Regions from separate parts of the Homo sapiens genome. Here region 1 is linked to region 2. Evidence: promoter capture Hi-C in 16 types of primary human blood cells and fetal thymus (Javierre and others, 2016). All regions are on one chromosome and are shown on one strand. The core of a region is centred on a gene start or on the middle of the fragment in contact, and the rest is flanking DNA. Distances in the headings are between cores, read along the strand shown. Region 1 has its middle 16 kb from the start of PDZD4. Region 2 holds the start of AVPR2 (arginine vasopressin receptor 2).

Region 1 (5,849 bases), core at 2,834-5,333, 59 kb after region 2:
CTCAAAAAAAAAAAAAAAAAAAAACTTAAAGAAGTAAATATGTGTGCTGTTCTGTTTACTCCAGCAACTCTTCTGACTTTGGTACCATTGTCTGCAAAGTTTTTCTCTGTAATTGATCAATTTTCTGCATTTTCTGTCTTTCCATTCCTCTAGCAGATGAATCTAAATTCTTGTTTGCTTTTGCTTATGAGAAAGTCTGATATTTATGGCAAAGAATTCCTCAAGGGTTTTGAATGCTCCCATTATTTTCTCTAGTCATTTACAGAAACACTTAGAGGAATTTCTCCCACCAGAGGGATCTATGATTATTTGCTATGTAGACGACTTGCTACTAGTAGCCTCAGAAACTGAAGAGCAATGCAAAACTGATGCTTTGGCTTTACTGCAATTTCTCATCTGGCGGGGACATAAGGTCTTGCTAGACAAATTGCAATAGTGCTAACCTGAGGTGAAACAATTAGGGCATCTGTTGTCAGCTGTGAAGAAAGAGAAAAAGAAGCTGATCCTTAGGCAGGAAGTATAAACAACGGGAAAGACTCTCTTAATAAATATGAATCTCCCTTTTGGAATACCAGAGCATTTGAATCAGACAGAAAAAGTCATTTTATTCCTACTGTCATCCAGTAGCATAAAAAAATTAATGAATTAATTAACAGATTAATGAATCCAGCTCTGAAAGACTCATTGGCTAAGATTCTGCAACCTACAATGTTAAGATGGCCTGGAACTTTCCCACTAGCCTTGTTTAAAATTACAGCCACTCCTTTAAGCAAGCATGGCCTAGCTCTAACTTGGGTCCAAGACCAAGTCCTGTGGCTGATTTTTTTTAATGTTTTTATTTATTTTTATTTTTTGAGAAAGAATCTTGCTCTGTTGCCCAGGCTGGAGTGCGGTGGCATGATCTTAACTCACTGCAACTTCTGCCTCCCAGATTCAAGTGATTCTTCTGCCTCAGCCTCCCAAGTAGCTGCGATTACAGGCATGTGCCACCACACCTGGCTAGTTTTATTTTTTTGTATTTTTTGTAGAGATGGGATTTTGCCATGTTGGCTAGGCTGGTCTTGAACTCCTGGCCTCAGGTGATCCACCTGCCTCAGCCTCCCAAAGTGCTGGGATTACAGGCATGAGCCACTGTGCCTGTCCTTCCTGTGCCTGATTTAACTGAATCCTCCCGTAATCATACTCAATACTTAATAGGGCTTTTCTCTTCTTTAGAAACCATGAGACTTAAAAAGTCAGAAGGATCTGGAGGTAACCCTCCAAAGAAGTCCACCATCCCAGTTGACTGGGAGGTTTCCTCTGCATCAAAGCTTTTCCAGGGGAAAGGCCTGGGCTGCCACTGTGCTGAGAGGAATGTTTTCAAATGCTACTGATCACCTACAGGGCCATCGGAGAGAAAGAAAAACGCAGCTGGACTCTTGGGAGGATTGCATTGTGGTTGCCACAAAGGACTTTTCCTGTAACTGATATTGGCTGCTCTATCCACAGTAGTAGTTATTTGAATTACTGTAAGACTCACATTTTTACTAACAAACATGTTATTTGTTAACTTTGAAATTGATCTGTTTGGAATAATTTAATGCTGGGAAGACATAATCTCATCAAGCTGTAGGAGGCCCTCACTCATAGCCCAGCAGCGATTAGCTACAAAACAGTTCTACAATATCATCATTAGCAGGTCTATTCATATTTAAGGAAACAATTAGATATTGGGAGTATGACTATAGAACAGATGAAAAGAACAGCATCTAATCAATAGACAAATAGAAAGCTGGCATATATAGACAGAGGCTGCGAAGACAGGTATAGTGTCACTTCATTAATTGTACAATGTAAGTTCTCTCCAGTCCCAGTATGGATAGATAAACAAAGGGTTGTCTGTTATCCAGGGAGACTTAATAGGCTGTTATAATAACATAACTTGATTGGGACTGATGCCTGAGAAAGTGCCGATAGGATGAGTTTTCCTCAACTTAAAACAGATAGGGCAGTTTGGGCTCGGTGGTTCATGCCTGTAATCCCAGCACTTTGGGAGGCCGAGGTGGGCATATCACCTGAGGTCGAGAGTTCGAAACCAGCCTGACCAACGTGGAGAAACCCCGTCTCTACTAAAAATACAAAAATTAGCCGGGCGTGGTGGTGCAAGCCTATAATCCCAGCTACTCGGGAGGCTGAGGCAGGAGAATCACTTGAACCCGGGAGGCGGAGGTTGCTGTGAGCCGAGATCACACCATTGCACTCCAGCCTGGGCAACAAGAGCAAAGCTCCATCTCAAAACAAACAAACAAACAAAAAACAGATAGGGCTGTGTACATTACACCCTGGAAGTTCATAGTAAGACTTTGATCTGCCGGGCGCAGTGGCTCACGCCTGTAATCCCAGCACGTTGGGAGGCCAAGGCTGACGGATCATGAGGTCAGGAGATCGAGACCATCCTGGCCAACATGGTGAAACCCCGTCTCTACTAAAAATACAAAAAATTAGCCAGGCGTGGTGGCAGGCGCCTGTAGTCCCAGCTACTCGGGAGGCTGAGGCAGGAGAATGGCGTGAACCCGGGAGGCGGAGCTTGCAGTGAGCCGAGACCACACCACTGCACTCCAGCTTGGGTGACAGAGCGAGACTCCGTCTCAAAAAAAAAAAAAAAAAAGACTTCGATCCTAGATATGGCCATAGGTATCTTTGTAGTTCACATTGAGAAATACCACTCAGGAAGACAAAACAATTACCAAAGTGCCTACATTATTATTGTCAATATGATGTTACAGGGCCAGGCATGGTGGCTCACGCTCGTAATCCCAGCACTTCAGGAGGCCAAAGTGGGTGGATCACTTGAGGCCAGGAGTTTGAAACCAGCCTGGCCTGGTGGTAGGCACCTGTCATTCCAGCTACTCAGGAGGCTGAGGTAGGACAATCGTTTGAACCCAGGAGGTAGAGGTTGCAGTGAGCTGAGATCGTGCCACTGTACTCCAGCCTGGGCAACAGAGCAAGACTCCTCAAAAAAAAAAAAAGTTACATATATATACATATATATGTGTATACATATATATATGTATATATATGTGTATATATGTATATATCTATATATATGTGTATATATGTATATATCTATATATGTATATATCTATATATGTGTGTATATATATGTATATATCTATCTATATATATACACATACACACATATATGATGAAAACTCAAGAAATTCTGGGGGTCTTACAAGGAAAACTCTTCATTAAAAATTTATAAGACTCCAGAGTTAAACTACTCCTTAAGCTTGGATTGGATAAGATTTTGTAAGGAGCCATGAAATAATATTCAAATGGTTAGCCATTTGAAAGCTCAGGCAATGAAGATGTCATGACAGCTAGTACAATTAATGTGTGATGGAGGGAAATGTTTACACATTTGCCTACAAAGAATCTGATTGAACCCTGAACCATTGATGTGATATATTTGAAGGTTGTCCTCCAAGGCAAGTATTGTACTGAATTCAAAAACTGATGCTATTGCAATTGTGGTCATTGTTTTGCATTTTACTACGGGCTAGCTGGATATTTAGGCATCTGCAACTTGCCCAGAAGAAGGTAAAAGCAACAATGGTGTTAATTAAATATCGCAATGTTATTATTTCATAGTAACACAGGAAGAAGATTGTAAGGGCAAATACAGATTAAAAACAAGAGGCTTAATTCTCTCTGTTGAAAATAAGGTAAGAGACTCCCTGCACCTTTTTCCTTTATCTTTTGGAATTTCTTTCTCTGTCCTTTTCAAATGTATGTAGATGTTTTTAATGGCTAAAGAAGCTCTGGCCAGTTTCACAACTCAGGAATGTTTCCTCTCCTCTGGGATCCGGGAGCCAGCTTTTCGAAATGTAATTAATCATCCAGGAAGATAACTCTCTTCATCTCTCAGTTTCAGCTGCCACCTGGCTCCGAATTGTGAAACCTGCCTACTGTAGTGGATACAGACCCACTTAGCTGTATAGAAGAGTGAGGCCCTTTCTGTCTTTTGTTTTTAATTAAATTTCCCCAACATACTCCATAGCAATGGGGAAAGGACAACACCTGTTATAATAACATAACTTGATTGGGACTGATGCCTGAGAAAGTGCCTGGTCAGATGAGTTACATTTCCCCAACATACTCCATAGCAATGGGGAAAGGGGACAACTCCTTTCCCCATTGCTATGGAGTATGTTGGGGAAATTTAATTAAAAACAAAATCTTCTCCCAACCCAGAAAACCTCTCCACAAAAGTAGAAGAGAAAGAAAACAATTTATAATTGAATACGCATTAAACCAGAATGCGGTGTGCATCACAGGTAACCCACTGGAGGCATTGCAAAGACAGAAAGGAAGAAGACTAGCGCCCTAGCAGCCCCTTTGGGTCATGGCCTCGTCCCAAGGATGCAGAGGGCGGGCACTGAGACCATGAAGGCATGAAAGGAGAGGAAGGACTTGATTTGCGAGTTGTGCAAGTCATAGAATTGGCAATATCCCCTCCCCAGGGGTTCACACTGTGCATTTTCTCCAGCAGGCAATTGTGATGGGACCAGAGAATTGCCAATGGCTCCCTTGCAATGTAAAAGTGCCCAAGTTCCGATATGTGTAAGCAAATGCCTCTGCCCTCAAAGGGAGATGCATCTCAATGCACTGTTGCTTTTAAAGGAAGAGAGTACTTTGGTCAGCTTCCTGGCATTGCTTAAAAACAAGACCCAAAATGGACCTTGTAATAAGACCCTACAGAATCCTTCTTGAGGATCTTCAGCCTGGAAGTCTTTTTGTTTTTTTTTTTTAAAGAAAAAACAAATTTTGACCACTGCCTGACATTATACACAAAAAAATCAATTCCAGGTATGTTGTAGATCTAAGAACAAAAGGCAAAACAATAAAGCTTGTAGAAGACAACAGGAGAATATCTTCAGGACCTGGGGCTTGGGAAAGATTTCTGCTTTGCTTGCTAGGAGGCTGTCTGACTCCTCCTTTGGCCAACAATGGAGTTGGCAGGGGGTTTCCATGCACCCCGTTGCTTTTGTGTTGCTATGCAGAAGAGTGGAAATGCTGTCTCTCACTACCACCTTTACGTGTTTCTACCCAGTATCCTTTTAGAAGAGATGTTCTTTCTTTTTCAAGGAACGCCTGTCGAAATGCATCAAATGCCTAGTCAGCAACTAGTGATCCTGTGAGTTTCCTCCTTTAATTTGCTGAGTAATGAATTCTGTGGAAAGATTTCCTGATGTTCAATCACCTCTGTATTTCTGGAGTAGACCCGAAATTCTATTCTATTCATAATAATAGAATATTATGTCTTGCTCAGACATAATGTCTTATTCTTTTGCTATATCGCTGGAATCCATGTGCTTATCTTTTATTTATAATTTTTGCATTTGTAATCAGAAGTGACAGTTGTTCACAGGTTTCTTTTTGTACTCTGTTTAGGAGGTTTGGGCATCAACCTAGGTTTAGGTATTGTTGGCTTTATGAAATGTTTTTGTGTGGACTGGAATAGTTTAAATGATATCAGAATTATTTTGTCTTGAAAGATTATATAGGACTTGGCTTTGAAACTACTTAGGGTTGGTACTGTTTTTATGGAGAATCCCCTCTCTATTTTATTTTATTTGACACAGGGTCTCCCTCCATTGCCAGGGCTGGAGTACAGTGGCATGACTGTAGCTCAGTGCAGCCTCAAATTCCTGGGCTCAAGCGATCCTCTCACCTCACCCTCCTGAGCAGCTAGGACTACAGGTGTGTGCCACCACGTCCAGCTAATTTTTTAATTTTTGTTTTTGTAGAGATGGGAGTCTCACTATATTGCTCAGGCTGGCCTCAAACTCCTAGACTCAAGTGAT
Region 2 (5,526 bases), core at 1-2,500:
CGGTGGCGGTCCAGCGTCATGGCCAGGATCATGTAGGAGGAGGCATACATGCCCACCATCTGCAGATACTTCACGGCCCGACACAGGGCATCTGGCCCACGGAAGCGGTCGGTGGCCTTCCAGGCCAGCTGGGGCAGCACTTGGAACAGAGCCACGGCCAGGTCGGCCAGGCACAAGTGGCCAATGAAGACGTGTATGGGTGCCCAGTGGCCCCGCCGGCCCCGCCGAGCTAGGGCCGCCAGCACCAGGCCATTGCTCAGGGCCACAGCCACAAAGACTATGGAGAGCAGCGCCAGCTCCGCCCGGGCTAGCAGCGGGTCCCGGGTGTCCAGTGGCCTCTCCTGGCTGCTGTTGCTGGGCAGGCTGGGCAGAGAGGGATGCCCAGGCACAGCTGGGAAGGAGTCGGGAAGAGGGCCTGGTTAGAGAGGGTGCTGTGCAGGGGGACTCAGGCCTGCCTCCCGTGCCCCCATCCGGACACCCACTTCCTGGCTCCTAGCAGAGGGGACTCCAGGAAAGCCATGTTATGAGGGATACACACCCCAGGCTCATGCAGTCCAGAAGGAAGGGCAGCCCCAGCCCCAGCCCCAGCCCCAGCCCTGGCGGGGAAGTGGGGCTGTGCTCCCCTCCCCACTCATTGGCAGCCTGGAGAGACACACCCAGAGGTGAGGGTGAAGGAGGTCTTTAGAAAGAGGGGCTTCCCTGAATCGTCAAACCCACTCTGCCCACCGGACTCATGGAGGGGCAAGCCTTACCGGAAGTGGTGGACGCCATGAGCATGGTGGGGCTGGGGCAGGTGTTCTGAGGGCCTGGAGGTGATGTGCGGACTCAGCCTCTGCCTGAGGAGCAAGTTCAATGGCCCAGGGTCTCTGGACTGGAGCCCTTATAGAGATGCCAGCATGGCAGATGCCTGTTGGCGTGTGTGCACGTGTCGGTGGCAGTATGGCCAGTCCTGGGCAGGGAAGATTGAGAGGGATGGTCAGACAGACGGATGCACAGAACCCAGGATCCCCCAGGCAGCCCATGAGTCCCGGGTTTGGGAGTGGGCACCCCAGACAGACACGCAGAACTCCCCTGCCCCAACCGAGGCCGAGAGAGGCCACCATCCGAGGGCTGGGGACTGGGCAGGGGGGCAGGCAGGCGCAGCCCCTTACCTGGCTGGGCTCCTGGGCAGCTGGGCGGTGGCGTGAAGGTGGCTGGGTGCTCAGATCTGCTCTCCATCGGCTGCCCTGCCCTGGCCCAGCCCAGCCTCTGGGAGTGACCTGGCCAGGAGGGGACTTCCTCCCCCTCCCCCTTTCCCCCAGGCCTCCCCTGGCCTCCTGTTTCCCTTCCTTTCCCCAGGGCCTCCCTGGTCCCGGCCCAGGACTCCCTCCTCCCACTGCCATAGCCTCCACGCCCACCCTCACCCTACCACGCCCCCCTGGTTGGATTGTCTGGGTTGGCAGTGCTCTGGGAGGTCACTTAGTTCAGCATTCCCATTTTATAAGTGGGGAAACTGAGGCCAGAGAGCGGTGGGTCTGGCCCAGGACTGCGCTGCTTTTTCATGGGAGCTTCACGCCCCCTTCCCAAGTTGGGGTCCTCCTGCTCCTCGCTGGGCCCAGGCAAGGAAGGGGTGAAAACACTTTCGCTGGGCCCCTCCCAGGCCCACGCAGGCCCCTCCTCCTCCCCAGTTAGGGCCCAGTTGGCCGGAGACGAGGGACAGGAAAGGGAGGAGTGGGGCAGGGGCCAAGCCAGGCTTCACGAACCCCTGTGAGATCCAGGGACACCCCCACCCTCTTCCTCCTGCCCCACCTGCAACTACCTGTCCTAGGAAGAGGGGCTGGGGACCTCCGTGTGCTCACGGGCTCCCTCCCACCACACACAACCTCACATGATACAGCCACACAGCCACAAACACACAACACAGAGACGCTCGCTCATGTTCTTGAACATACCATGAGTATGGACGCACCTTCCCTGTACCTGAGCCCTCCTCCTCCCTCCCCCAACACCTCTCTCCTTCCCCTGTCCCCACACCCCCTCCAGCCCCCATCCCAGTAGTTCTCTTTCCACTCCCCCCGCACCCAGGCCTGGCTTGGCTCAGCCGAGGCCAGCCCAGCCCAGCCCAGCCCAAGGCAGCTGCTTTCTTCCTGTTTGTCTGTCTTCTCTGTTGCCTGTGAAGCCAGAGACCAAAACAGCCTCACGGACCAGGCCCAAGTCCGGCCCGCGGCCAAGGCCTCCTCTTCCTGCCCAGAGAGCCTGGCAGCACCCTGGCCCCTCCCGGCCCTGTTAGGGTGGTGGGAACACAGGGTGGGCATTTTCCAGAGACAGCGCACACACCACACCACATACATACATGCACACAGCCACACGCCACACACACATGCACCCACCACACACCCATACGCCACACCACACACACACCACACCATGCACACATATATTACACACCACACACATGCACACATCACACACTCCCATACGCCACACACCCACACATGTACCCACCACACAGCCATACACACCACATACGCACAGCCAACACCACACACGCACACACCCGCAGCACACACAGGTGCACATCACACCCCGCATCTTTGCCATGTTTTTGCAGAGCCCCTTGGGGGCAGGCTGCAGAGTGCTGGCACCCCAGGCCTGACGCTTCAGCTGCATCTCCTCAGCGCATGCACATCCTCATGCTGTCCCCAATAACCGCATGCTGTCACTAATCTAGGAGCATAGAAAAGGCCTTCCTAATGCCACCCAGATCAGTGGAATAGGAGATGGCTTCCCTCAACTGGCAGAGAATTTGGGGACCCTGGCTGGGGAATAGGAAAGCAAGGCTCCAGCCCCTGCTTGGCCCCTGCCCAGTAGTGTGACCTTGAACAGGCCACGCCAGCTCTTGGCACCTCAGCTTCCCCTTCTGTGCAATGGGACTTGATGATTGAGGGAGACTACGGTGGTAAGATGGGCAGGGGTGGGGACTGGCAGGGCCTTGGGAAAGCCTTTGTTCCCTCCGTCTAAAGCCGGCTAGGGCGAGGAATCCATGCTAACCTTTTGGGGTGAGCAGACAACCATCTCCTTATCAGTTTCTCTGCCTGAACGAGGCTGTGCAGTGCCGGATCTCAGCAGCAGGTTGGGACCTCCCCTAGCAATGTGGCCAGGCCCGTGGCAATCTCTGCCCCCCTGGACTCCTCGCTTCCTGTTGTTAAACTAGGGAAGAATCTGGAGGAAGGGCCCGCATGGCGGTCTCCTCTGGGATGCAAGAAGCCAGATCAGGATCCAGTGCCATTCTGCTCAGCCAGGACCCCGGGGAGGAACTGGGAGCCACATGGGCAGGCACTACATGGAACTGTGCCAGGAGAGAGGCCCTGGGCAGCCACCCCTCGGGGGCCAAGAAAGATGGGGCTGGGCAGCAGCTCCCATGGGAAGAAGGGCAGACTGTGCTGATTCACGCTAGGCCCACATGAGTCACTCAAGCCCCTGCCCTTGGGCGTTAACGGGCAGGGCATCTACCTGGGGGTGTGCCAGGCCCCCACTCCTGCCAGCGCAGCCCCTGTGTGCACACCTCCCACTGGTCCCTCTAAGACTTGCAGAAAGGGCTCTGTGAGTGCCAAGGTGTGGCTCCTGATCTTCCAGCCTAGTGTCTGGGCAGAAGAGGACAGGAGGCAGATTGGGGGGACACTGTTTGTCCCTCTCTATCTACCGGTTCCCCATGATCAGAACCTTCCATTCACCAAACTGCAAGTGCCGCTGGCCTAGCACTGTGGCTGCAGAGATGGAAGGACCTGGGCTCTGCCCCAGGAGCACATGGGCTTCTGCAGAGAAGAGTGGAGGCAGGGAGGCTGGTGGAAGCTGTGCCTGTCACCCAGGAGAGAAATGGTGCGACCCACTTAACACTGGGCAGCGGGGCTAGAGGGAGCAGGCAGGTGGAAAAGGCATTTAAAGGGCCCTGAAGGATTTGTAAGGGGTGGAAGACAAAGAGGAGGCAGCCAAGGACGAGGAGAAAGAGGCCCCCGATTGTGTGGGAGGGGTGCATGTGCAGATGGTGGAGCCTGTGGGCAGTGGGAAGGACGGAGCCAAGTGCCTGTCAACAGGAACGGCCCTCACAGGGACTGTGACCCGAAGGAGAATACCTAGAGCCCAGGAGATAGGGAGGAACAACGGGTTGGAGGATGGGATTGAAGGGGACAAAAACAAATTTAATAAAAACTCAAGTGTACTTGTGTGAATGTGAGGGTGTGTGTGAGGGTGTGCGTGTGTGAGGGTGTGAGAGTGTGTGAGGGTGTGTGTGAGAGTGTGCGTATGTGAGGGTGGGCGTGTGTGTGGGGTGTGTGTGGTGTGTGGTGTGTGAGGGTGTGCATGTGAGGGTGTGTGGTGTGTGTGTGGCGTGGGTGGTTGTGTGTGAGGGTGTGTGGTGTGTGTGTGTGTGGCGTTGGGGGGGTTGTGTGTGAGGGTGTGCGCGTGTGTGAGGGTGTGTGCGTGTGTGAGGGTGTGTGCGTGTGTGAGGGTGTGTGCGTGTGCCAATGATGACAGGAAGACAGCCTGCGGATGATCATCTAATTGTGTCCATTCACCTAAGTGAATAATAACTGGGAAAGCTGGACAGAGCCTGTTTATAGCTGCGGAAAGGCAGCCCATGGAACTGGATAGATTAAGAGCCTCGCGGAGTGGAAGGGAGGGCCAGGGTCTCCAGCAGGTGCTGGGGTGAGGGGCGGGGGGTAGAAGGAGGGTGAGCGTTGAGGGCTTGAGGGCCGTACCCATAGATGGCCTCCAGGTCATCATGTGAGAGTCAGGCAGGAGGCGGCTCCCTGGCAAAACTGCAGAGATTTTTTTTTTTTTTCTTTTTTAAAGGCAGTGGCCCCTCCCGCTTTCCTCCCCAGAGGCGGCCGACTGCAGTTGCTGTTAGTGGGCTGTTTGGGTAACTGCCTCGGGGTTTCCCAGTCTGACTTCCTCTTGCTCTCTCTGCCTGCACGTTCCTCCCCCAGATTATTGCAGCAGCTGCTCCGGGTGTCTTCAGTGCTCATGCACTCACCACCCTGGAATGGCCCTCCGCAGGCAATGATTTCTCTCCTCCAGAATGACTTTTTTTTTTTTCGGCTTTATTGAGGTATGATTAGCATACAGTAAAATTCATTAATTGTAATTGTACTGTTCAGTAAGATTTGACAAATGTATACAGTCGTGTAACCACAACCACAATCATGACATAGAATAAATATTTTCGACATTCCAGAAAGTTCCCTCGTGGCCTTTTGCAGTCAAGCTTCTTCCCCTACCTGAAAGCCTAGCAACCACTGATCTATCACTATAGATTTTCCTTTTCTAGAATTTTATATAAATAGAATCATAGAGTATGTAGTATTTTCAAAAATTAGCCGGGCGTGGTGGCGCAAGCCTGTAATCCCAGCTACTCAGAGGCTGAGGCTGGAGAATCGCTTGAACCCGGGAGGCGGAGGTTTCAGTGAGCCGAGATCTTGCCATTGCACTCCAGCCTGGGTGACACAGCAAGACTCCGTCTCAAAAAAAAATAATAATAAAAATAAATAA

The links. The method cuts DNA at HindIII sites, captures the fragments that hold promoters and counts their contacts. A CHiCAGO score of 5 or more calls a contact.
Region 1: a fragment that was not itself captured here is called in contact with the fragment with the promoter of AVPR2 in region 2 in 1 of 17 cell types (M1 macrophages); the score reaches 5.3 in M1 macrophages.

The regions. Positions count from the first base shown.
Region 1 is chrX:153,844,041-153,849,889 of GRCh38, reverse strand. No RefSeq gene overlaps it. Among named protein-coding and RNA genes, the nearest start is that of PDZD4, 16 kb to the right of the region's middle. RefSeq lists enhancers at 3,530-4,397, 4,398-5,266. The HindIII fragment of the contact is 1,620 bases long and covers 3,274-4,893 here.
Region 2 is chrX:153,900,397-153,905,922 of GRCh38, reverse strand. AVPR2 (arginine vasopressin receptor 2) reads right to left here and starts at 1,250. Exons shown (of 4, transcript NM_000054.7): 1 at 1,152-1,250; 2 at 753-949; 3 at 1-391. The coding sequence starts at 777. The HindIII fragment of the contact is 5,945 bases long and covers 1-5,244 here.